Regions from separate parts of the Homo sapiens genome. Here all the other regions are linked to region 3. The links are contacts of gene promoters, found by promoter capture Hi-C in blood cells and fetal thymus (Javierre and others, 2016). All regions are on one chromosome and are shown on one strand. The core of a region is centred on a gene start or on the middle of the fragment in contact, and the rest is flanking DNA. Distances in the headings are between cores, read along the strand shown. Region 1 has its middle 16 kb from the start of RTN4RL2. Region 2 overlaps SLC43A3 (solute carrier family 43 member 3). Region 3 holds the start of YPEL4 (yippee like 4). Region 4 holds the start of SLC43A3 (solute carrier family 43 member 3).

Evidence for each region. Contacts are between HindIII fragments. The CHiCAGO score rates a contact against its expected background, and 5 or more counts as called.
Region 1: a fragment that was not itself captured here is called in contact with the fragment with the promoter of YPEL4 in region 3 in 6 of 17 cell types (neutrophils, activated CD4 T cells, M2 macrophages and 3 more); the score reaches 11.0 in neutrophils.
Region 2: a fragment that was not itself captured here is called in contact with the fragment with the promoter of YPEL4 in region 3 in 2 of 17 cell types (M0 macrophages and activated CD4 T cells); the score reaches 6.2 in M0 macrophages.
Region 4: the fragment with the promoter of SLC43A3 here is called in contact with the fragment with the promoter of YPEL4 in region 3 in 9 of 17 cell types (monocytes, activated CD4 T cells, neutrophils and 6 more); the score reaches 9.8 in monocytes.

Annotation. Positions count from the first base shown.
Region 1 is chr11:57,441,594-57,448,157 of GRCh38, reverse strand. No RefSeq gene overlaps it. Among named protein-coding and RNA genes, the nearest start is that of RTN4RL2, 16 kb to the left of the region's middle. The HindIII fragment of the contact is 4,883 bases long and covers 1-3,859 here.
Region 2 is chr11:57,401,298-57,407,731 of GRCh38, reverse strand. It overlaps SLC43A3 (solute carrier family 43 member 3), which reads left to right. Exons shown (of 14, transcript NM_199329.3): 14 at 1-778. Among named protein-coding and RNA genes, the nearest start is that of PRG2, 14 kb to the right of the region's middle. The HindIII fragment of the contact is 976 bases long and covers 763-1,738 here.
Region 3 is chr11:57,648,344-57,654,853 of GRCh38, reverse strand. It overlaps YPEL4 (yippee like 4), which reads left to right and starts at 4,942. Exons shown (of 5, transcript NM_145008.3): 1 at 4,942-5,169. It overlaps MIR130AHG (MIR130A host gene), which reads right to left. Exons shown (of 2, transcript NR_186232.1): 2 at 1,953-4,556. RefSeq lists an enhancer at 6,431-6,510. The HindIII fragment of the contact is 14,007 bases long and covers 1-6,510 here.
Region 4 is chr11:57,425,832-57,432,415 of GRCh38, reverse strand. SLC43A3 (solute carrier family 43 member 3) reads left to right here and starts at 5,295. Exons shown (of 14, transcript NM_199329.3): 1 at 5,295-5,354; 2 at 5,764-5,828; 3 at 6,064-6,427. The coding sequence starts at 6,244. RefSeq lists a silencer at 5,176-5,535 and enhancers at 5,778-6,570, 5,679-6,584, 6,571-6,584. The HindIII fragment of the contact is 9,438 bases long and covers 2,164-6,584 here.

The sequences.
Region 1 (6,564 bases), core at 169-2,668, 200 kb after region 3:
TCTTTCTTTCTTTCTTTCTTTCCTTCTTTCTTTCTCTTTCTTTTTCTCTTTCTTTCTCTTTCTTTCTTTCTCTCTTTCTCTCTTTCCCTTCCTTCTTTTTCTTCTTTCTTTCTCTTTCTCTCTCTCTTTCCCTTCCTTCTTTTCTTTTCCTTCTTTCTTTCTTTTCTCTTTCTTTCTTTCCCTTCCTTCCTTTCTTTTCTTCCTTTCTTTCTCTTTGTTTCTTCCTTTCTCTTTCTCTCTTTCCCTTCCTTCTTGTCTTTTCTTTTCCTTCTTTCTTTCTTTTTTCTTTCTTCTTTCTTCTCCTCCTCCTCCTTCTTTTTCTTCTTCTTCTCTCTCTGACTCTCTCTCTGTCTCTCTCTCTTTCTTCTTTTTTTTTTTGAGATGGAGTCTGGCTCTGTTGCCCAGGCTGGAGTGCAGTGGTACAATCTCGGCTTACTGCAACCTCTGCCTCCCAGGTTCAAGCATTTCTCCTGCCTCAGCCTCCCGAGTAGCTGGGATTACAGGCGCCCGCACCACACCTGGCTAATTTTTGTATTTTTAGTAGAGACAGGGTTTCGCCATGTTGGCCAGGCTGGTCTAGAACTCCCAACCTCAGGTGATCCACCCACCTCAGCCTCCCAAAGTACTGGGATTACAGGCGTGAGACACCGTGCCCAGCCAGGAGGCTTATTTTCTTGATAAATTACCCAGTCTCAGGTATTTCTCTACAGCGATGCAAGAACAGCCTAATACATCCAGGCTCAGCATCAGTGGACCCAGGTGGGAGAGCTTAAGATGTCAAGGTCTGAATGCCGCTTCCACACACCTTTGGGACCTAGGTACTCCCTCTCTTTTTCTTTTTTCAGTAGAAGATGTTATCTTCTCCTTTCTCTGACCAGTAGTTGGTGATGGTTTCAGAGATAGTTTTTCAGTCAAGATATATTTCAGTGGCTTCACTGAGCCCAAGTTCCCTCGCCTCTCTAGGACTTTATTTCCTTGTTTCTAGAAGAGGGATAACACATATTTTCTAAGGTGGTTGTGAGATTAAGGGAGCTGGTACCGGGTGGTGCATAAGGACAGGATAGAGCAATGGTGAGACCACTCAAAAAGCGAAAAGTTGACCTGCGAGGGTGACACTTATCAAATCAGCACACAGTGGGAGTGGAAGGAATGTCCCTCATCAGTTACAATATTTGGAGAGTGCAAGTTATAGAAAACCCAGCCCTGGCCGGGCGCGGTGGGTCATGCCTATAATCCCAGCACTTTGGGAGGCTGAGGCAGGTGGATCACGAGGTCAGGAGTTCAAGACCAGCCTGACCAACGTGGTGAAACCCCACCTCTACTAAAAATACAAAATTAGCTGGGCGTGGTGGTGTGTGCCTGTAATCTGAGCTACTCAGGAGGCTGAGGCACGAGAATCACTTGAAACCGGGAGGTGGAGTTTGCAGTGAGCCGAGATCGCACCACTGCACTCCAGCCTGGGCAACAGAGCGAGACTCCATCTCAAACGAAAAAAAAAAAAAGAAAGAAAACCCAGCTCTAACTGGCTTAAACAGTAAGAAGATCTATTATATTATCCATCTCAGGCAGCAGCAAGCCCAGAGGTAGGGGACTCCAAGGTTGGTTGATCCAGGGCTTAACGATGTCATCAAAGACCCAGGTTCTTTCTGTCTCGGCACCTCTGTCTGCAGGGCCAGCTTCATCCTAAGCCAGATTGTTCTTGTCTTGATTACAAGTTGGCTGCTGGGCCAGCAGACGCTGCCTGCCTCCCTGTTCATCTTCAGAAGTAGAAAGTGGCCCTTCCCCAGTCATGGAATGAAAGAGTTTCCTTTCTGTCTGGGATTGCTTAGGTCCACCCACCTGAAGCCAATGACTGTCACCAGGAAGGTAATATACACTGATTGTCTTAAGTCAGGGTTCCTGAGCCAGTCTTGGGCAAGGAGTGTGATACTGTCATGATTGTCTTGGGCTCATCAGGGCAGCTCTGCAGATGAGATCAAACTCCAAGCTACATTATTCTGAACAGTGGGAAGTAGGAAAGAGACATTTTGGGAGATACAAAACACAATGTCTATCCCATATCCCTAGGTCCAGGTCACAGTGTCTTGGTTGGACATCAAATGTAGAAAAAGAAAGACTGTCCATCCATTTATCTACCTATTCATCTGGTTTTTGATTTTTTTTAAATTTTATTTTAAGACAGTCTCACTCTGTCACCCAGACTGGAGTGCAGTGGTTTGATCATGGCTCATGGCAGCCTCAACCTCCCAGGCTCAAGTGACCCTCCCATGCTCAAGTGATCCTCCTACCTCAGCCTCCCAAGTAGCTAGAACTAAAGGTGCATGCCACCACGCTCAGTTAATTTTTGCATTTTTTGTAGAGATGGGGTTTCGTCATGATGCCCATGCTAGTCTGGAATTCCTGAACTCAAGCAATATGCCTGCCTTTGCCTCCCAAAATGCTGGGATTGTAGGCATGAGCCACTGCTCCTGGCTCATCTGTTTAATAATTTATGAAACAACTACTGGGTGCTGAGCACGGGGCCAGGGGCTGGAGATCTAGCAGGGACCAGGCAGATCTCTGCCAAGTCCTTGGTTTCTTAAAGGTTTTGCTCATAATTCCCCTTTTCTTTTCTCTTTCGTTTTTTTTCTTTTCTTTCTTTCTTTCTTTTTTTTTTTTTGAGACAGAGTCTCACTCTGTTACCCAGGCTGGAGTGCAGTGGTGCGATCTCAGCTCACTGCAACCTCTGCCTCCTGGGTTCAAGCGATTCTCCTGCCTCAGCCTCCCGAGTAGCTGGGACTACAGGCGCCTGCCACCATGCCCGGCTAATTTTTGTGTTTTTAGTAGAGACTGGGTTTCACCATATTGGCCAGGCTGGTCTTGAACTCCTGACCTTGTGATCCGCCCGCTTCGGCCTCCCACAGTGCTGGGATTACAGGCGTGAGCCACGGCGCCCAGCCAGTTTCCCTTTTCAATGAGGCCTCCCTGACCTCCATACTCTACTCCTCCACCTGGCCCACTCAGCTCTACTTTTTCTTCCCCATAGCACTCAAGACCTCCTAACATACTACATAAGTTATTTATTTACTAGGCTTACTGTGTATTGTCTGTCTTCCTCTACTAGAATGTAAACTCCATGAGAATAGAAATTTTTGCCTTTTTATTTAGTGTGGTGTCTGCAGCCCCTGGCTTAGTCCCTGGCATACAACAGTCACTCCACCCACAGTTGCTGAATAAGTGACTAAAGGTCCCTGCCCTCATATTGTTATGAGGGAGTGTGCATGTTGTTAGAGAAAAATCTGAGGCACAATAAAATTTTATAGAGTTTAAGTTTTCTTTTTTAAGCAATCCACGAATTGGGGTAGTTTCAGAGGTAGTTTTTCAGTCATGACGTATTTCAATGGCTTCACTGAGCCCAAGTTCTTTCACCTCTCTAGGACTTTATTTCCTTATTTCTAGAACGGGGATAACACATAGTTCATAAGGCAGTTATGAGAGTAAGGGAGCTGGTATGGGGTGATGCATAAGGACAGGATAGAGCAGTGGTGAGACCGCTCAGATGACAAAGCGTCAGAGACCAGTATTTACGACGGAAATGTGGAAGCATGATAAAGAAATTATTTGGGCTGGGCACAATGACTCACAACTAATAAAACTTTGGGAGGCCAAGGTGGGAGGATCACTTGACTTGCAGAAGGTCAAGGCTGCAGTGAGCTGTGATTTTGCCACTGCACTCCAGCCTGGTCAACAGAGTGAGACCCTGGCTCGAAACGTTATTTGATTGGTTACAGTTATACAGTTGCCTTATTTGGTCTATTCCATTTGAAAGTTCCTAGTTCTATAATTTTAAGTTTGTTGGCTGTTTCTGATTGGTTAAGCTTAAGTTTTGTTTTCCTTTAATACAGTTAAGTGCCCCATAATGACATTTTGGTCAAGGACAGACCACATATACAGTGGTAGTCCCATAAGATTATAATGGAGCTGAAACATTCCTATTGTCTATGGTGTAGTGGTCCTGATGTTGTAGCGCAATGCATTAGTTATATGTTTGTGGCAATGCTGGTGTAAACACACCTACTGCACTGCCAGTGATATAAAAGAATAGCACATACAGTTATATATAGTACATAATATCTGATAATGATAATACATAACTATATTACTGGTTTATATATTTACTATATTATTTATCTTTATTTTATTTTTGAGACAGAGTCTCATTCTGTCACCCAGGCTGGAGTGCAGTGGCGCGATCTTGGCTCACCGCAACCTCCGCTTCCTGGGTTCAAGTGATTCTCCTGCCTCAGTCTCCTGAGTAGCTGGGATTACAGGTGTGCACCATGACACCCTGCTAATATGTTTTGTATTTTTAGTAGAGATGGGGTTTCACCATGTTGGCCAGGCTGGTCTTGAACTACTGACCTCAAGTGATCACCCCGCCTCGGCTTCCCAAAGTGCTGGGATTACAGGCGTGAGCCACCACGCATGGCCTATTTATAATTATTTTAGAGTGTACGCCTTATACTTATAAAAAAAAGCTAACTGTCAAACAGCCTCGGGCAGGTCCTTCAACAGATATTCCAGAAGACATTGTTATCATAGGAGATGACAGCTCCGTGCATATTATTGTCCCTGAAAACCTTCTAGTGTGGAAGTGGAAGACAGTGATATTGATGATAGGACCCAGTGTAGGCCTAGGCTAATGTGTGTGTTTGTGTCTTTGCTTTTAACAAGAAAGTTTAAAAAGTTAAAATAAAATACAAAAATTTTTAAATAGAAAAAAGCTGCCCAGGAACAATGGCTCACACCTGTAATCCCACCATTCGGGGAGGCCAAGGTGGGTGGATTGCTTGAGCTCAGGAGTTCAAGACCAGCCTGGGCAACATGGTGAAACCCCATCTCTACAAAAAATACAAAAATTAGCCGGGTGTGGTGGCATGCGGCTATAGTTCCAGCTAATCGAGGGGCTGAGGTGGGAGGATCACTTGACCCCAGGTGGTTGAGGCTGCAGTGAGCAGTGATTGTGCCACTGCACTCCAGCTTGGGTGACAGAGTGAAACCCTGTCTCAAAAGAAAAAAAAATCTTAAAGAATAAGGATATAAAGAAAGAAAATATTTTTGTGTAGCTGTTCAATGTTTGTATTTCAAGCCAAGTGTTATTACAAAACAGTCAAAAGTTTTTAAAAATTTAAAAGTTTATAAAGTAAAAAAGCTAAGTAAGCTAGGGTTAATTTTTTTATCGAACAAAGAAAAATATCTTTGTATAAACTTAGTGTAGTCTAAGTGTACATTGTTTTTATTTTATTTATTTTTTATTTTTTTGAAATGGAGTTTCACTCTTGTTGCCCAGGCTGGAGTGCAATGGCATGATCTTGGCTCACGGCAAGCTCTGTCTCCTGGGTTCAAGCGATTCTCCTGCCTCAGCCTCCCAAGTAGCTGGGATTATAGGCACCCGCCACCATGCATGGCTAGTTTCTTTGCATTTTTTTTTTGAAATGGAATTTTGCTCTTTGACCCAGGCTGGAGTGCAATGGTGCAATCTGGGCTAAATGCAACCTCCACCTCCCAGGTTCAAGAGATTCTCCTGCCTCAGCCTCCTGAGTAGCTGGGATTACAGGCATGCACCACCACACTCGGCTAATTTTTGTATTTTTAGTAGAGACAGGGTTCTCAACTAAAGAGAACCATGTTGGCCAGGCTGGTCTAGAATTCCTGACCTCAGGTGATCCACCCACCTCGGCCTCCCAAAGTGCTGGGATTGCAGGCATGAGCCACCATGCCCAGCCAGTATACAGTGTTTATAAAGCCTCCAGTAGTGTACAGCAATGTCCTAGACCTTCACATTCACTTACTACTCACTCACTCACTCACCCAGAGCAACTGCCAGTCCTGCAAGCTGCATGCATGATAAGTGCCCTATATAGGTGAACCATTTTTTAATATTTTATACTATATTTTTACTGCACCTTTTCTATGATTAGCTACACAAATGCTTACCATTGTGTTACAACTGCCTACAGTAATCAGTACAGTACTATGTATGGGTTTGTAGCCTAGGCTATACCATGTTGCCTACGTGTGTAGTCGTCTATACTGTCTAGTTTGTACACTCTATCATGTTTGCATAAAGATAAAATCACCTAATGACACATTTCTCTGAGTGCATTCCTGTTGTTAAGCAACACATGTATAAACATTTACAAGAAATAGCTCAAATTTTTTTTTCTTTTGATACAGGGTCTTGCTTTGTCACCCAGGCTGGAGTGCAGTGGCGCAATCTCGGCACACTGCGACATCTACCTCCCCGGTTCAATCGATTCTCCGGCCTTAGCCTCCTGAGTAGTTAGGACTACAGGCACGCACCACCACGCCTGGCTAATTTTTTTGTATTTTTATTAAGAGATGGGGTTTTGCCATGTTGGCTAGGCTGGTCTCGAACTCCTGACCTCAGGTGATCTGCCCGCCTTGGCCTCCCAACATGCTGGGATTACAGGCATGAGCCACCATGCCCAGCCATTACGTTTTTTTGGTTGTTTAATTTTTTTTTTTTTAAGAGACAGATTCTCACTCTGTCATCAAGGCTGG
Region 2 (6,434 bases), core at 1-2,500, 240 kb after region 3:
GGACCTCGTGTCCCAAAAGACTTTGCCTATCCCAGCAAAACACACACACACACACACACACACACAAAATAAAGACACACAAGGACGTCTGCGCAGCAAGAAAAGAATCTCAGTTGCCAAGCAGATTGATATCACACAGACTCAAAGCAAAGGCATGTGGAACTTCTTTATTTCAAAACAGAAGTGTCTCCTTGCACTTAGCCTTGGCAGACCCTTGACTCCAGGGGAGATGACCTGGGGGAGGAAGTGTGTCAACTATTTCTTTAGGCCTGTTTGGCTCCGAAGCCTATATGTGCCTGGATCCTCTGCCACGGGTTAAATTTTCAGGTGAAGAGTGAGGTTGTCATGGCCTCAGCTATGCTTCCTGGCTCTCCCTCAAGAGTGCAGCCTTGGCTAGAGAACTCACAGCTCTGGGAAAAAGAGGAGCAGACAGGGTTCCCTGGGCCCAGTCTCAGCCCAGCCACTGATGCTGGATGACCTTGGCCTGACCCTGGTCTGGTCTCAGAATCACTTTTCCCATCTGTAAAATTGAGATGAATTTTGGTGTTGAAAGTTCTTCCTGGAGCAGATGTCCTAGAAGGTTTTAGGAATAGTGACAGAGTCAGGCCACCCCAAGGGCCATGGGAGCCAGCTGACCTGCTTGACCGAAGGATTTCTGACAGACTATCTTTGGGGATGTTTTCAAGAAGGGATATAAGTTATTTACTTTGGGCATTTAAAAGAAAATTTCTCTCGGGAATAATTTTATAGAAAAATAAAGCTTCTGTGTCTAAGGCAACTACTGTTTCCATCTCTCTAGGCTTTGGGCCGGGGCTGTGTGTGTGTGTGTGTGTGTGTTTGTGTGTATGTGTATGTTTCTGAGGAGGCCCTACCCTGGCATGAGAGGGTAGGGAATCTGGCTACACATCTAGTGTGGCAGCTGGACCCAGAGGTGGGGCAGGAACCCTGACTATGATTCACCCCGCTGGTCCTGGGATGTGGGCCCAGAGACTTCCTCCCCCAGGAACCCCTCTGCTTCCTCTTCCTCTCCACATCCTTAACTAACTTTAGCAGAACCCTACTCCTCACTACACACCCCCAGCTAGAAGCGCTGGATGGAATCAGAAATTCCTAGTTTGAGTTTCAATTCTGCCCCTCAGCAGCTGGGCAAGCCCCTTAACCACTCTGAGTCACTAGTTCCCCACCTGCAAAGTGCAGTTAATCATTTCTATCTCTGATGGCGATTGTGAGAATGTAAAGTCATTGCAACTGCCTAGCACATGGTAGGAGCACATGAGGGTTTGCTCCTGTGTTTACTCATGACCCTTGGGGAGGACGGGGGCAAAGAGGGAGAAGTTGAGGGTGCAGGAGGAGAGATGGCAGGTGGGTGGGATGGGAGAATCTGGGGCACACCTGCTGTCTCATTCCCACCTTGCTAGGAGAGGGACTAGGAAAGAACAGTGGGAGGCAGGGGGATGGGGGTGGAAGGCAGGGGGTGGCAGGCAGGTTCATCCATCCATTCATTCAACAAATGTTTATTGAGCACCTGCCACGTGTCAGGCCCTGTCCTGGGTGCTGGGGCTATAAAGATGCAGAAGGGTCTGAAACCCAGCTCTTCCTTCTTCCTGTGGATGTCGGGGTGTAATTTCCAGGGGCCAGGAGCCTGGGTCTGAGGGCGGACACCAAAGTTCTAGTGGTGTCTATTAGCAGCGTTTAAATCTAATGGATGGATTTGGTCTTGTTACCCTGCTCAAAAGCTTTCAGCAGCTCCCCACTGTCCACAGGACAAAAATCCAGATGCTAGCCTGGCATTCAAGGCTGTCACTAGTGTGATCTCAACCTCTCCCCTTCCCTCTTTACCTCCTACCAACAGCGGGGCAGAGCCCACCCCTGTGGACCAAGATTCCCAGTCTCTGGGTCTGTGTGTGCACCAGTTCCTCTGCGTGGGTGGCTCACCCTGCCTCAGCTTGTGAAATCCATCTGGTCTGCTGGGATCCTGCTCAAAATGTCATCTTCTCCAAAAATCATTACTCAGGCTTTCCAGCATGTCTGAGTCCCTGGCACTTGGTCACACCCTTCCTGGTGACTGGCATTTGCCTCCACATCATGACCCTCCCACCCCTTGCCTGGGCAGCATACTCCAGGAGGCAAGGTCTGTTCTCGCCTGGCTCTAATTAATCTGTGCTTACCATCCACATGGTACCAGCTAATTCTTGTTGAATGAATGATCGTTGAATGAGTGGATTCTTGTTTTGGCCTCAGAACCAATTAGAAGGAGCCAGAAAAACACATGGGGGTGGGGGAGGTGCAGTGTGGTGCAGTGGAAAAAAACCCTTCTGGAAATCTCAGCTCTGTCACTTACTTTGTCAGCTCTGTGACTTTGGATGGACCACTTCTTTGTCAGTATGGTGGGAGAAATAGACATGCCTCTCTGGGCTGTTGTAAGGATTACAAATTAGGTCGAGTGCTTGGCATGTGGTGGGTTGAACAGATCACAGCTAGCATTACAGATGATATATTAAAGCCAAAAAAAGATGCCTAATGTCCACCAGTTGGTGAACGGACAAAGGAAATGTACCATATTTGGGATATTATTTGGCAATCAAAAAAAGTACTGACACCTGCTACAACACGGATGAATCTTGAAAACATTAGACTAAGTGAAAGAAGCCAGACACAAGAAACTGCTAATGATTCCATTTAAATATGAAATATCGGGCCAGGGTGCAGTGGCTCATGCCTGTAATCCCAGCACTTTGGGATGCCAAGGTGGGCAGATCACTTGAGGCCAGGAGTTCGTGACCAGCCTGGCCAACATGGCGAAACCCCGTCTCTACTAAAAATTAGCCGAGTGTAGTGGCATGCACCTGTAATCCCAGCTACTTGGTTGGCTGAGGCACAAGAATTGGTTGAGCCTGGCAGGTGGAGGTTGCAGTGAGCCAAGATCGTGCCACTGCACTCCAGCCTGGATGACACAGTGAGGTTCCGTCTCAAAAAAAAAAAAAAAAAAGGAAAAAGAAAAAAAGAAATTTCCAGAATAGGCCAATCTGTAGAGGCAGAAAGTAGATTCATGATTGGGTAGGCCTGGGTGTGGAGGCCATGGGTAGTGATGGCTAATGGGGAAGGGGTTTCTTTTGGGGTGATGAAAATGGGTGGACTTATGGTATGTTAATTATACCTCAATAAAACTGTTATTTAAAGGAAGAAAAGATGCCTGGATTCCCCAGGAAGTGTACAGTAGACTTCTGTGAGAATCAGAAATGATTTCTGGGGAAGATGGGCGAGAGGAGAGTAAGTGGGAGAAGTGACCACGTGCGCAACTCTCATCGTTCTGCCCTGAGAGCCTTCCTCCTGCAACTTTATTTATTTATTTATTTTGAAACAGGTTCTCACTCTGTTACCCTGGCTGGAGTGCAGTGGTGTGATCTCAGCTCACTGCAGCCTCGACCTGCCAGGCTCAAGCAATCCTCCTGTTTGAGCTCCTGAGTAGCTGGGACTACAGGCGCATGCCACCACATCTGGCTAATCTTTTATTTATTTATTTATTTATTTATAGAGATTGGGGAGTCTCACTCTGTTGCTCAGGCTGGTGTCAAACGCCTGGACTCAAGTGATCCTCCCACCTTGGCCTCCCAAAGTGTTGGGATTATGGGTGTGAGCCACTGTACCTGGCACCTCCTGCAACTTCTTCCTCAAGTGGAACCAATGAGGAAGCAAGCAACTCAGAGCTTTCACAAGTTTTGATTTCAATCAGCAACGGGCTTCCAATGCAACCCTTCTCTCCTGTAACCAGCCTCAGTAGAGAGGAACTGGAGGTGAATTGGCCCCCATCACACCCCCACAGTGCCAAGCTGGGCCCTTCCATCAGGGGGAGAACACATGCCGTGTAAGGGACAGCCAACAGCATAAAATAGGAATTGTGTGATGATCCCTTTTAAGCCTATTCAGCCCAGGGAAGTGCATATGATCAGCCCCATTTCATAGATGAAGAAAGTCAGGTTCACCCATTAGCACATTGTGGGGCTGGTATTTAAACCAGGTCTGTCTGGCTCCCAAGGTCACATTCATTTAGACATTACCTTTACTTTACATTTCTTCTTCTTTTCTTCTTCTTCTTCTTCTTCTTCTTCTTCTTCTTCTTCTTCTTCTTCTTCTTCTTCTTCTTCTTCTTCTTCTTCTTCTTCTTCTTCTTCTTCTTCTTCCTCTTCTTCCTCTTCTTCCTCTTCTTCCTCTTCTTCCTCTTCTTTTCTTCTTCCTCTTCTTCCTCTTCTTCCTCTTCTTCTTCTTCTTCTTCTTCTTCTTCTTCCTCTTCTTCTTTCTTCTTCTTCTTCTTTTTTTTTTGAGGTGGGGTCTTGCTCTATTGCCCAGGTTGAATGCAGCATCATCATACCTAAATGCAGCCTTGAACTCCTGGCCTTAAGCAATCCCCCTGCCTCGGCCTCCAAAAGTGCCAAGATTTCAGGCATGAGCCACCATGCCCAGCCTGCATTTATTCTCTTGTAAGAAAGATATCATTTAAAACAGACGAGAAAATAAAGAGGGACATGAAAAAGACGCATCACCATTAATTGGACCACTCAGAGATAATCATGGTTAACATGTTGGTATGTTCCCTCCCGTCATTTGACTGGATGTATGTGATAATTTAAATGATCTCATAAGCTTTTCCTTATGTAATCAAATAGTAGCCAAAAACATGATTTTAAATGGCTGCTCACAACCCCATCTCGTGGTTCTGCCACGCCTTGTTTATCCCCATCCACCCCCTACTCCCTTTCCCCTTCCCTGCCTGTGTGGGGGTCCTAGATGACGGTGAGCCAGAGGGCAGCCTTGGTCAGCAGATTGGAGAGTGCAAATAATAAAAACACTCAGAAGGCGAGCTGTTGTCAAGTGGGCTTATCACAAAAGAGCACCTTGGGATATTCCAGAGAATGACCTCATACCCGCTAATCACTATCCATAATCTGGTGCTAACTGTACTTTAGCTGAAGGTGCTGGCAGGTCCTGCCCAGGTGCTGCTAAGAACACTTCTATTCTGTGAGAATCAGAGATGATTTCTAGGGAAAATGGGCGAGAGGGAGTAAGCAGGAGAAACAACCCACAGGCACAGCTCTCATCTTTCTGCCCTGAGAGCCTTCCTCCTGCCACGTGGTTTTGTTTGTTTGTTTGTTTGTTTGTTTCAGATAGGGTCTCACTCTGTCACCCAGGCTGGAGTGTAGTGGCAAGATCATGGCTCACTGAAGCCTCGACCTCCCAGGCTCAAGCAGTCCTCCCCAAATTCAAAGCTTGGAGTGATGGTCCCAGTGGTTATGTCTAGGAGCCCTTTTTCCTGCCAGCCCCTCAGGGGATTGATGACTCTCAAATGCTTCAGGTGTGACATGGGCACAGCAGTGAGTCATTCCTCTGACATTCTTTGGGAAGAACATTTTCCATCCAGGCTTCCAGGCATAAGATCCAGTCCTCTGGTGATAAGGAGTTCACAGACAGGACAATGTCTGAGTGTATCTTAAACCCAGGACCATGGCTTGTGTTCACACCAGACCCTCCAGGGATTTTGAGGTGTTTTGTTTGTTTGTTTGTTTGTTTGTTTGTTTTTTGAGACAGAGTCTCTCTCTGTCGCCAGGCTGGAGTGCAGTGGCACGATCTCAGCTCACTGCAACCTTCGCCTCCCGGTTCAAGCGATTCTCCTGTCTCAGCCTCCTGAGTAGCTGGGACTACAGGTGTGCACCACCACACCCGGCTAATTTTTGTATTTTTAATAGAGACTGTGTTTCACCATGTTGGACAGGATGGTCTTGATCTCTTGACCTCGTGATCCTCCCGCCTCGGCCTCCCAAAATACTGGGATTACAGGCATGAGCCACCGTGGCCCGCCCAATTTTGAGTTTTTATGTTCTAATCCCAAACATCTGCTCACAGGCCCCTCAGCATATTCTTTCCTGGGTCCAGTGTCACCTCCCAGGCCTGCAGGCTGGCTAGAGCAGTAGGGTGTGTGGGAAAGCTCTGGGCTTTGCAGGCACTGATCAGCTGTGTGACCTTAACCACCCTGAACCTCAGTTTCCTCACCTGTAATGGAAATAGGTACCACGGCAGTTTGTTGCAAGGACTAGAGAGTAACCTTGGGAATAAAAGGTAGCAGCAGCTTGGGCTCTGGAGATGGACTGTCCAAGACCAACTTCCAGTTCCTCCCCACACAAGCTCTGGCACTTAGATTCCTGGTACCTCCGCTGCTTCATCTGTAAAATGGAGTAACAATAGGAATACTTTATAGAGTTGTAAGGATTGAGTGGCTGGATGAACGTCAAGCACTTCAAAGGGGACCTGGCATGTAGTGAGTGATCAATATAAACCACCTGGCTTGTAGCAGGTGTGCTGTGTGTGGCTGCAGGTGTTATTAGTAACATCTGTGTGCCCTTCAGAGCGTGCACCACACTTCACACCTTGTGGAGTCTGGA
Region 3 (6,510 bases), core at 3,693-6,192:
GCTTGACTACACTCTCTTCTCTCACTTTTTTTTTTTTTTTTTTTTTTTTTAGATGGAGTCTTACTCTGTCTCCCAGACTGGATTGCAGTGGTGCGATCTCAGCTCACTGCAACCTCCATCTCCCGGGTTCAAGCGGTTCTCCTGCCTCAGCCTCCCGAGTAGCTGGGATTACAGGTTTCCACTGCCACACCCAGCTAATTTTTCTATTTTTAGCAGAGACAGGGTTTCACCATGTTGGTCAGGCTGGTCTCGAACTCCTAACCTCAGGTGATCCACCTGCCTCGGTCTCCCAAAATGTCGGGATTACAGGCGTGAGCCACGGCGCCCAGCTCTTTTCTCAGTTTTAATCTTTCACCAAGCACTCCTGCCATCTCCACCCCACCTCCAAACAATACCGTCATCATATGTTCTTTTTCTCCTCTCCAGCTAGATCCTTGATCATTTTCTTTTTGCTTCCAAACTTTCTTTCTTTCTTTCTTTCTCTCTCTCTCTTTCTTTCTTTTTCTTGAGACATAGTTTCGTTCTTGTTGCCCAGGCTGGAGTGAAGTGGCGCAATCTCGGCTCACTGCAGCCTGCGCCTTCCGGGTTCAAGCAATTCTCCCGCCTCAGCCTCCCAAGTAGCTGAGATTACAGGCGCCCGCTGCCATGCCCAGCTAATTTTTGTATGTTTAGTAGAGAAGGAGTTTTGTCATGTTAGCCAGGATGGTCTTGAACCCCTGACCTCAGGGTCATCTGCCCGCCTCAGCCTCCCAAAGTGCTGGGATTACAGGTGTCCGGCCTGCTTCCAAACTTTGAATCCGAGCTGGGCCCAGTGACTCACGCCTGTAATCCCAGCACCTTGGGAGGCCAGGGTGGGTGGATCACTTGAGATCAGGAGTTCGAGACCGGCATGACCAACATGGTGAAATCCCGTCTCTACGAAAAATACAAAAATTAGCCAGGCATGGTGGCACATGCCTGTAATCCCAGCTACTCAGGAAGCTGAGGTGGGAGAATCACTTGAACCCGGGAGCCGGAGGTTGCAGTGATTCTCGATCATGGCATTGCACTCCAGCCTGGGAAACAGAGCGAGATTCCATTTCAAAGAACAAACAAACAAACAAACAAAACAAAAGAACTTTCGATCCATGCCTTGAAAACTAATCATTTGCCTTTTCCCACTTCTCATTGTTCTCCTCAACAATTGCTTTTCAAAATCTTTTTTTTTCTTTTTTTTTTAAATTTTATTATTATTATACTTTAAGTTTTAGGGTACATGTGGTGCACAACGTGCAGGTTTGTTACATATGTATACATGTGCCATATTGGTGTACTGCACCCATTAACTCGTCATTTAGCATTAGGTATATCTCCTAATGCTATCCCTCTCCCCTCCCCCCACCCCTCAACAGGCCCCAGTGCGTGATGTTCCCCTTCCTGTGTCCATGTGTTCTACTTTTATCTCCCCTCTCTTCTGCTGCCCAAACAAAAGCACTTCTCTCTTCTTTCTTTACCTAGCTTTTTCTCTCAATTCCAAATCTCTAGTACTATCCCTCAAGACACCCACATTGTCTTTTCAGAATTTACTTTAAACCCCAGAATCTTCCCTGATTAAATATTTAGAATCCCTTTTTATTTTCATGCTCAACTAGCAATGTCTCCCATTACCCACATTTCTCTGCCTTAACTTTTTTTTCCCTCTTTACGTGTGAGAAGAAAAACAAACCACCCCCAAGCACTGCTTTCTAGAAGTCCCTATCTTTGTCGTACTTCATTTGCTAAATGCTAGACTCTGTTAGAAATCAGGGTTTTTGTCTTAGGGGATATGTTCTGTGTTCACATACTTTAGTAACATGCACAGGACAGCACCCCATGAGAAATGAATTCTGAGTCAAATGAAATTTAACTGGAAGCTGCTAGAAAAATAGCAACAAAAGATGTAATGTCTTCATAAGACAAAAATTTGGCATGTGTCTCTTGAGATATCAGAATTTAATAATAAATCCTCCCTGGGTTTTGGGGGTCATACATTGAGAATGCTGTTTTGGTTTCACTTTTGTTTTTTTGGTTTTGTTTTTTTTTTTGAGACGGAGTCTCTCTTTGTTGCCCAGGCTAGAGTGCAGTGGTCCCATCTTGGCTCACTGCAACCTCCGCCTCCTGGGTTCAAGCGATTCTTCTGCCTCAGCCTCCCAAGTAGCTGTGATTACAGGCATACGCCATCACACCTGGCTAATTTTTTGTATTTTTAGTAGAGAGGGGGGTTTCACCACGTTGTCCAGGCTGGTCTCGAACTCCCAACCTCAGGTGATTCGCCTACCTCGGCCTCCCAAAGTGCTGGGATTACAAGGTGTGAGCCACCTCACCCAGCCAAGAATGCTTTTTTTTTTTTTGAAACAGAGTCTCGCTCTGTCACCAGGCTGGCGCGATCGGCTCACTGCAACCTCTGTGAGTACAGTGGCGCCATCTCAGCTTACCGCAACCTCTGACTTCCTGTTCAAGCGATTCTCCTGCCTCAGGCTCTCGAGTAGCTGGGATTACAGGCACGTGCCACCATGTCCAGCTAATTTTTGTTATTTATTAGGGATGGGGATTTCACCATGTTGGCCAGGATGGTCTCGATCTCCTGACCTTGTGATCTGCCTGCCTCGGCCTCCCAAAGTGCTGGGATTACAGGCGTGAACCACCGCACCTGGCGAGAATGTTGTTTTGAAATGACACTACTGTTTACTGCCTATCATGTGCCAGGCATTTTTCAGGCATTTAAATGTTATCTCACTTTATTCTGCATCTCCATGAGCTAATAATAATAAATATTATTAGCTTCATTTAGCAGAAGAGTAAGACTAAGGCACAAAGATTATCAGTAATTTGCCTAGTGGTTCCTGCCAAGTAATTGGCAGAGCTAAGAGTCTAATTCAGTCTCTTTGAGACCAAAGCCAGACACTTGGTTCATGTCTGAAGATGCAACTCAACTGCTCTATTAATCAGAGTTCTCTAGCGGGATAGAACTAATAGGATAGATGTATATATAAATCAGAGTTATTACGGAATATTGACTCAGATGATCACCAGATGAGGTCCCACAGTAGGCTGCCTGCAAGCTGAGGGGCAAGGAAGCCAGTCCGAATCCCAAAGTTGAAGACCTTGGAGTTCAATATTCGAGGGCAGGAAGCGTCCAGCATGGGAGAAAGACGTAGGCTCAGAGGCTAAACCAGTCTGGTCTTTCCACGTTCTTCTGTCTGCTTTTATTCTGGCCTAGCTGACAGTTGATTACATTGTGCCCATCCAGATTGAGGTGGGTCTGCCTTTCCTAGTCCATTGACTCAAATGTTAATCGCCTTTGGCAATACCCTCACAGACACACCCAGGAACAATACTTTGCATCTTTCAATCCAATCTAGTTGACAATATTAACCATCACCAGTCCACCCCTTGTCAACTTGAACCCATACACGTCTCCTGAAATCATACATGATCTTCAAATAAAGACAATAATAAGGTCATAATTACGCTTAACATAATACAGCTATCCTTTGTACAACCGGAAACGCACCAATCCCCAACCCAAATGCTATTACATAGAGTTAACAACACTTAAGTGCTGATATCAAGTCAGTAAGTCTTATGTCACATGATAAAGGCAAAAGAAAGGAAATAAAATGAAGATATTTTCTTAATACAAGTGTATATATGCACAAACATGTTCCTAACAAAAGGAGGAGGAAATACTCATGACAATTACAGTCCTCATTTTCTGCAGCTGGTCACATGGTCATAGTTCGTATTGATGACTACCTTCTTTGACTACCCATTCTGAATTCCGTTTGCCTTCAGCAAGCACCTCAGCAGATTATGTTTTTTTTACCTGGTGGAGTGACCCAAACCTTCATTCCTGAAGGGTCTGGGCCATTTGTCATCCTGCCTGGATTGGGCTGTTGCAGTTTCCCATTGACCTTAATCACAGGGCATGGTAATATTAAGAGACGCCCTACGTGATCTCCTGTATTCCACGCATACTTCCTTACCGCCATTGTGGAGTAGTAGACTGATTTCATCTTGATAGTCTGGGTCAAACACTGTAACTCCCTTCTTAGCAAGTTGGCTTAAAAGTAAGAAGAGCCCAAAGTGGCCAGGTGGCAATCTTAACTTCCAGTTTAATGGAATCATTGTTGTGTCTCTTGGTGGCAGCATTCCTCCCTCTGGAACTAAGACCTCTAGGCCAGCAGAACATAATGCCGCGGAAACAACTGCTATTTTGGAAACATCTAAATGCACGGGTCTGCACTGGACATTGCAGTCCTGGGATGTAGAGAGTAATTTCCCAGAAGGCCTGTCTCAGGAAGTTTACAGCCCAATAGAGAACTTCATATAACGTAGGTGTCTCCATTCATGAAGCACGCATAATATGGAGGTAGCTGTTAAGGGGTTCCTGCATGCAAAATGTCACATTGGGTCTATTACTCCTTCAGGAGTATTAAACCAAGGCTTTGAGGCTTGGTACAAGTTTGGGGGCACAGTTTGCCATCCATGACAATTAGTACATCTGTCTTTTCCCTGCTTCAGGGCTGGTGTCCAAGCTGAAATGGGAAAGTGTATCATCTTAAATGTGTGTGTGCTCCCTCACTCTGCATCCATCTCTTCCTTCACCAGCCTTGCCACCTCCTTTCCTCCAGCCCTGCCACCCTCACTGCATCCTTGCCCAGCCCTGTCCTTCCCCCAGGTTCTTCGTATCTCCTTGGCCCCACTGCCTTCCTCCTTAACAACCTGCCTCTCCCCTTGCCCACCATCGCCGCCTTGTCCCTCGGCCCCCACTCCTCTAGCCCCGTCCCTTGATGCCTACCCCCTCCCTTCCTTCCGACCCGCCTCCTGTGTCTCCCAGCCCTGCTCTGACGTGGGAGGTGAGGGGGGGTGGGGGGGATGGATGACTCACAGTGTTATGATGCAGTTCCACAACACACAGCCACATTCACCCACAGACCGAGGTACAGAACGAGAGACAACCTCTGCCCCCCCAGCAGCTGGCCAGCTTTGCAGCCCCAGTCTTGAGCCCCCAACTACCCTCCCCCCACCCACCCCCATCCCCTTCCCAATTGAAGGAGCGGAAAGAGAAGAGAGAAGAGTGAGCAGAGAGATTGAGAGATTGAGAGAGAGAGAGAGAGATAGACGGAGATCTCTGGAGCAGACCTCAAGGTGAGGGGGCAGCCCTTCTCCAAATGAATTTTTTTCTCTTTGCAAATTTCCTCCTCCTGCTGCGTGTTGCTTTCTCCCCTTTGCAAAAGCATTATTCATCCACCCTTTGTCCTCCCTTCCCCCTCCCCGCTGCCTCCGCTCCTCTCTCTCGGTTCCTCCATCCCTCTCCAAGCTCTGACGATTCCCGCACTTATTTCCCGGCAACTTTGGCTGCAGCATCAGGCATCACTGTTTATTGTTTTGCTGCTGGTGCAGACCCCCAAAGCCTGCCCTGGGAGCTGGCGGTGCTGCTAATTATTTGGACCATACCATACTGAGAATACCAGCCTGGGGGGTGCCAAAACCTCAGAGCAGATGAGAAAATCCATTGTGAGCAGGTGTCCCCCCCCTTTTCTTTTCCCCCCTGAGAAGCACGAGATTCGCACCTGGTTCCTCCAGCCTCCGCCTCGGCGCCTCTGCTGTCAGCTGTCAGTTGCCCCCGCCAGCCCTCCCTCTCCCCTTTCTCCTACGGTCCAGCCCCGTCTCACTTCAGGGGAACATCTCTCCCCAGCACTCGGCTTGCCTTTGTTTTTTCTCCAGTCATTTGCCCAACTTGCTTCTCCCTGTGATCCGAGATGGGTGAAAAAATGACCCCTACTCCCCTTTGTGATTCTCTGGCCTTCTGTGCAGCCTTTCCTTGGCTTGACTGGGAATTAGGGGAGAGGGAGGGAGGCGTGACGGCCGGAGGCTGGAGAAGGAGCTCAGGATTGGGGACCCAAGCTGCCCCATTCTCCATGCCCCTTGAAGAAGGTGTTTCAAGGTGGTGCATGTCAGAGGGGAACTCGCTGGCAAAGTTGAAGGCAAACCTGTGAAGCAGAGACTGAAAGGTGGTCTCTTGGCAAGGAGGGCCCGTTTCCTGCAGCCGGAGCCCAATGTCACCCTGAACTCAGCCCAAGGTGTCTTCCTGGGACCCAGCCCGGAGGAGAGGACCTGAAACTGAAGATAGTCTCTATGGAGGTTTTGCGGAGAGACTGCCTGGCGGCCTTCAGAGAGAGTGGAACAGCTGGGTGCCTGTGGCCACTGCGGAGGACAGGACGAGGAGAGCCTGTATGCCCTGGCTAACCAGAGCCAACACTGCCTCTTCTCTGCTTAGTGCTCTAGCATTGCCAGAGTGCCCAGCTGGCATCTCTGAACCAGACTTAGGCTAACCACCCACAGTGGGCTGGGAAGCCCTATGAAGGAGAAAGCAGCAGCTCACCTGCTTATCGGAGCCAACAGGGGCCACCTCCCTTCTTATCCTCTGCCTCCAGCACCTTCAGCCACTCGGAGGCTGGCGCGTGGGCAGAAGGCAATCTTCCTCTA
Region 4 (6,584 bases), core at 4,046-6,545, 220 kb after region 3:
CCCCATCCTCCAGCACCATGGAAACTGTTCCAGTCTCTTCCGGCTTCCCTTTGCCTTTTTCCACAACAAAAGTCCAGTGTTCAATCGGCCCCAGCAGTTTCCTGCTCTTTTCATCTTTGGGGTGTTGGGCAAAGCTCTCAATGTGAAAAACCCCGTTGTTTTCACTCAGGAGTCGTCTCCTTCTCCTGGATCCATTTCCTCTTTTCATGATCATGCGTGTGGGTGGGTGTGGTGTCTGTGTGAGCAGGGCAGGGAGACACAGAATCACAGAGAGGCAGCACTACTCTCTTGTTTTAATCAAGGGTGCTGTCTGAAAGAATTACCCATCTTCATTCCTATTAGTAATAACTGGTACCCCCATCAACCCGATTCCAGAACTCATGCTCTGTGTAGCTCTTGGGAAGCCTCCCAGGAAGGCTGGGTAGGGCACAGATTAAGAGCATCAGCTGGCTGGGCATGGTGGCTCACGCCTGTAATCCTAGCACTTTGTGGGGCCAAGGCAGGCAGAACACTTGAGCCCAGGAGTTTGAGACCAGTCTGGCCAACATGGCGAAACCCCATCTCTACAAAAAATGCAAAAAAATTAGCTGGGCATGGTGGTGCACGCCTGTAATCCCAGCTACTCGGGAGGCTGAGGCAGGAGAATCACTTGAACCTGGGAAGTGGAGGCTGCAGTGAACTGAGATCACACCATTTCACTCCAGCCTTGGTGACAGAGTGAGATGCTGTCTCAAAAAAAAAAAAAAAAAAAAAAAAAAAAGCATTAGTTTCAGTCAGAGCATCAGGTTTCTATCCCAGTCCTGACACTGCTACCTGGTGATGTTGGGGGAGTTGCTTCGTCCCTCTAGGCCTCAGTTGGCCCAGATAATAGATGCTAATAACAACACCTATCGTGAGATTCAGTGACAGATTAAGCAAAAAGCGCTTCGAATCAGATACATAGTCAGTGCTCAGTGCCCAGCAGGTATTATTGATATTCCTTATTTTTCTTCTCAGGGGTAGGACGTGCCTCCATGTTGACACAGTGTTCCCCAGCCTAGTCCTTAGAGTTGCAGGTTTAGATATTGTCAGTGCACTGAGGCATTCCTTTCTAGCAAAGTCTATCGGGAAGTGCAGTTACCAGTAAACAGTTGCTTGATGAACATAGAAGTGGAGCTGGGGCTTGGGAGGGTGGGTAGCAGTAGCCTCATAAGCCCTGGTGTGGTGGGGCTTGGGGCTCTGCTTTCTCTTAGGCCTGGCCCAGTGCTTCCAGTATCTGGTCTGGTGGGGGAGCTCTGTTTTCTGCATGGTGAAAGGGAGGCTGATCCAGGCTGATCCTCTGCTGCCTCTAGCATCCACTGAAGCTGAGCTGGCTGCTCTGAGGGGCCAGAGTGGCCCCCACCCTCCAGTGCCTCTTTGGGTATCCTTTCAGATTCACCTCTGTTAAAGAGAAAGGTCTCCCCAGAGCAAGGAGGCCTCATATTTACTTGGCTATGTAGTAGTTCCCCACCCTCCTGAGAACTGCTTTGAACACACTAGGAGATACCCTGAAGAGCCAGCTCTAAGACTCCATCCCCTTCCTGTCTACTGTGGCTCATGAACAGACTTCCCACAGCTTACAGGACAATCCAAGCCCCTGCCTTAAGCCCAGACAGTCTTGGGGGGTTGTACTGAGTGCATTTGGGTGTCATCTAGAGATCAGTTCTCTAGGGTGGGACTTCTTAAGCAAGGTAAACTGAGCTCACCCATTACTTAGTGGTTTTCCCCCTAATTTATTTCTTTTTTAGGTTAGGAACACTTTGAAATTCTCCCTAAATGTGACTTTATTTCCTCTTTGTTTTCCAGTAAGTCAATAATATTTGTTAACAACAGTAGCTGCTATTTATTAATAGTGTACTAATTGGGCAGTTTTCATACATTATCTTTAATCCATACAGCTCGATTCCAATTTTATAGATGAGGAGACGGAAGCTCAGAGATACCAGTAATTGGCTCGATAGCAGTGTGCTTGTATTATTTTTGGCACTGCCTCAAGAGGATTAGAATTTTCTCTGCAGGTGAAATGATGTTTGCATTTACCTTTTGCTTTCTGACTTCCAAAACAGGCTGTAGAAACCCCTTTCAAGACCGTAGGTGGAAAACCAAACATTTTAATTTACATGAGCCCATTGTGAAAGGAAAGCTTATGTTTGTTTGTTTATGTGTTTGGCGTATCCGAAATCAAAGCCCTTTATGTGAATGGCTCAGAGTTTATCTACATATACAAATTTAGAAAGTGATGTCAGAGGGTAGGAGAGAATATCTGGACTCTGCCCAGAGAGTGGCAATTGCCCTCGCTGAGGTTGTTCAGAGGAAGTTTGAGGAGAGAGGTCTGTGGACAGGCAGGGACTGCATTGGAAGGTGGTGCTCTTGAGGACTAGAGGATACTAGCCATTGTTTGTGCCAGGGGAATGATGGAGTGCAGCTCACTTATACTGCCCTCTTTGGCAAACCCTCTTTCCCTAACCTAAACATATCCATCTTCCCACTCTGTCCATAAAAACATCCATAGGGTGGATCCTGGATATCCAGACTTGCTGATGATGGGAAGGAAAACCACCTCCAGCATTGGTACTTGGGCAGTAGGATGCAGGAGATCCAGTTCTATGCTCCCTCTTCCCCTCAAAGCAATGTCTCATGGCTGGCATCCCCAGACCCTGGACTGGTCCTTACCAGCCAGTTGACTGGACCTCAGAAGGGTTTTGAGCAGTTAAGTGAAGCCATCCAGTGGGAACCATGGAAATAAACTCTTGCAGGAGAATGGCGATGGCTTGGAAGCAGATGATGCCTCTGTGAGAGATGATGAGTGTCTGCATAGAGCAGTGGCCACGGATAGATAGGAGAGATATTAAGGGGTGAAATCAATAGGACATGATTGATTGATGTGGGCTGAATTCTTAATGCCCTCACTTAGATGGCGACGCTGGCCTCAAATCTTTCCACTTTCTTCACCACCCTGTGCTCTAGCTGGTTCCTAAATGTTATTGTTTTGTTGAGGTTCCGTGCCTTTCAATGTGCTGTGCTAGCATCTGCCTGGAAGACCATTCCCACACTCCAGAAATCTTGGGTTTCTTTGTCTGTCTCTCCCACAAGAGAATGAGCCCCTTGAGAGCAGGCACTGAATCTCTTCTCTACGAATCCCGGCACTTGGCACAGAGCCTGAGGTACCACATGTATTTGTTGAACCAATCAGTCAATTAAAAAAAAAAAGGTGTGAGATGATGAGGAAGGAGGCGAAGAGAAAAGGATGAAGACATCGGGTGCACCGTCAGACCTTATTATAATCACTTCTCTCTCTGATGTTACTCATTAATCCTCATTGGAGCCACGCAGGAGAGTGATCAGAATAGCATCTGCCTTTTCTAGCTGCTGGAATTCGAACCAAAGAACATGGGAATGGTTCAGAGGATATTCTAATTTCCTGTCCCATCAGTTCAGTAAGACTTGTGTTAGTGGAGGCCACGTCTTCTGCAGACATTGATGGGAGATGTGGAGTGGAGGCTCTAAGAGTCAAGAGAGGTAACAAGATAAGGTGGACAGAACCCTGGACGACCTGCCCCGTGTCCCGTGCTTCAGTCCTGGATGTACAGATAGCCCATGAGCTAGATCTTTCTGGCAGGCTCCTGCAGATTAACATTCTAAAATCTGTCTCTTTACTTTGACTTTTTTCTGTTTCTCCCTTGCTACTTCCACACTTACTGATCCCCCCAGGAGACTAAAATGTATGCCAGAGCAGAAGATAGGGCATGCATTAATTTCAGAGTCTTTGTGTCTTGCAGTAAAATAGAAAATCTTGCATCTTAAGCCCTGTTTGTCCTGGGATGCTATATTTTTGTGGATTTTCTCCCATAAATAATGTTATTTTAAGAAAAGACTTGTTTTCTCTAATGTCCAAATGTTTGTTAAGACGGGGTGATGAGAGCATACGTTTCAGAGTTGGGAAGGTACTGCAGCTTTGTAGAATGACCGTGGGCAAGTTCCTTTGAAATTCCTCCCCAGAGCTGCTTCTCTGGCTCTGTCTACATAACTGCAGACTAGAAAATCTACTACCCTACAATCTGCCTATAGCACCTGCGCCATGCAGGGACCTCATACACCCATCTTATACTTCTTTTATGACAATTCCTATAATTAAGGTACTATTGTCCTCGTCTTACAGGTGGGGCAGCCAAAGAGCTTGCCTCAGGTTGTATAACTAGTGAGTAGCTTGGGGTACAGGACCCCAGCCACCCTTCCTCCATTCAGTCAAGTCACTAGGGTGGTTGCAGACTTTTATCTTTTGTGCTTTGGTGGTGAGCTGGAAAATCCTCAGTTCTGGCTGTCCCCTATCGTAACCTCTATTTCTTCCTCTTAAAAAAAAGAGGAGTGGGCTTGGAATAGCTGGAGTTCCTGGGCCCTCAGGGGATCCAGGTAGCTGGGGTTGGGAGTCTGCAGACTGCATCTAATACGCAAGAAGCTCTCCCCAAACTGAGCTTTTGGCAAGGAAACGGCCACACAGGCCAAAGAAGACGTCAGCTCACGTGCTCTGGGCTGGAAGGATAGTAAGGCAGCTGCTTAGTAAGGCCTCACGCTGATCACAAGCTCCGATGAGCAATTATATATGTCTTTGATTAATAAAAAATGGGGCAATGAATGGTTAATCAATGCAGTCTGGCGGGAAGGCTCTTTCAGAACCTGGGGGGCGGGGGTGAGGCAGGGAGTCATCTAAGGGGTTTTTGGGAGTGAAAATATGGGGCAGTCCTCCAGGGGATGGTTTCTGAAAAGCCCTCAGTCCTGGTTCTTGGCTTCCTGATTCTGTGGTTGGGATTTTTTTGGCAGCTCTGGGAGTGTGAAACTGGGAGAGACGGTTAAGCTGGTGAGCAAATAGGAAAAATATGTTCCCTGCCAACCCAGCGGTCAAGGCAAAATGCACAAATAGAGTGTGTGTGTCCCTATGCCCTCATGTGCTGTCTGTGTGTCCTCTGGGTGCTGGGTGTGACATTTTCCCTAGGTGGGCCTGAGCGAGTAACAGCATTCAACTAACTTGGTTAGGGGAGGCAGAGGCAAGGGGGCTGGGAGGCTGAAAGGCAGCGAGGAGGGAGGGAAAGACACCGCTGGGGTTCTAGGGGGTTCTAGAGGGAGAAGTTTCAAGAGGGAGAGGTAAAAAGGGCGCGGGAGGCTGTGAGCAAGGGAAAAGAAGAAGGAAGTGATGGAGAGTGGGAGGTCTGCCCCAGCCCCTTCCGGGCGGGCAGGAGGGGGCGGAGGCGAGCAGGGGACTGGGAGGGGCTGCGAGAGGCGCGAATGCGAACCTGGCCCGTGCGGAAAGGGCGCGGAGAGCCCCGGCGCGGAGCAGGCGGGTAGGGCGAAGGGTCCCCTTTCGGGCGCCATGGGGCGCCGAGCGCGGCCTGGCCCCTCGGGCTCCTCTGCGGGGAGGGCAGGCCGCAGGCTGGAGCGGGGTGCGGAGGCTGGCGGGGAGCGGCCCCCGGAGGCTTTCCTGGTAGAAGTTGATGCGAGGAAGGGCGGCGGGGACCAGGTTTGCGAGTCCTAGGCGAGGGTCATGGGAGTTGGGGGTATTTCTGGCAGTAGAATGGCCTGCGTCGTGACTAAACTAGCCCTGTGACCTTGGGCAAGTTCCTGAAATCCATGGGAGCTTTTGTTTCATTGTCAGTAAACTGAAGATAACACCAACTTGGCAGCGGGAGTTTGTGTCTTCTGTATGAAATCTCCCTGCCTCTGCACCTGGTTGAGTTGCTGTCATTATTTTAGGGGACGGTATTCAGAATTCGAGCGCAGGAGCTCCGCTTCTCCACCTGCTCCCGGGGAGCTATTGGGTAAGTCGTTTATCTCACCTGTGACTCCAGGTGGCCATCAAGACCTGCCTCTCTACTTGCCACGTGGTTACTCAAATGCAGTGCCTAAGATGATGTATTGGAGTATTTATTCCCCACATTTGCTGCCAGCGGCCATGATCATCCTGCCTCTTAATGCACCTCACAAATAACTCTAGTCTACCTTTCCCTTTCCCGCAGGCCTCCTCTTCCAGCAGCCTCTATCTTTATTCTACAGGATCCAGAGAATCACCCGCTGATGGTTTTTGCCCAGGCCTGAAACAACCAGAGAGCTACGGGAAAGGAAGGGCTTGGCTTGCCAGAGGAATTTTCCAAGTGCTCAAACGCCAGGCTTACGGCGCCTGTGATCCGTCCAGGAGGACAAAGTGGGATTTGAAGATCCACTCCACTTCTGCTCATGGCGGGCCAGGGCCTGCCCCTGCACGTGGCCACACTGCTGACTGGGCTGCTGGAATGCCTGGGCTTTGCTGGCGTCCTCTTTGGCTGGCCTTCACTAGTGTTTGTCTTCAAGAATGAAGATTACTTTAAGGATCTGTGTGGACCAGATGCTGGGCCGATTGGCAATGCCACAGGGCAGGCTGGTAAGGGCAGGGATGACTTTTCTAAGGAAGTTAAGTCTGGCTCCCACGTGGTGGCAAGGAGCAGGAAGGACTCTGCCCCCTGCCCACCCCTCTTTCTATGATGAGAGGAAGGGTCAGCAGCTCTCACCCCACTTGATCTGGGAAGTGCCTGGGAGGG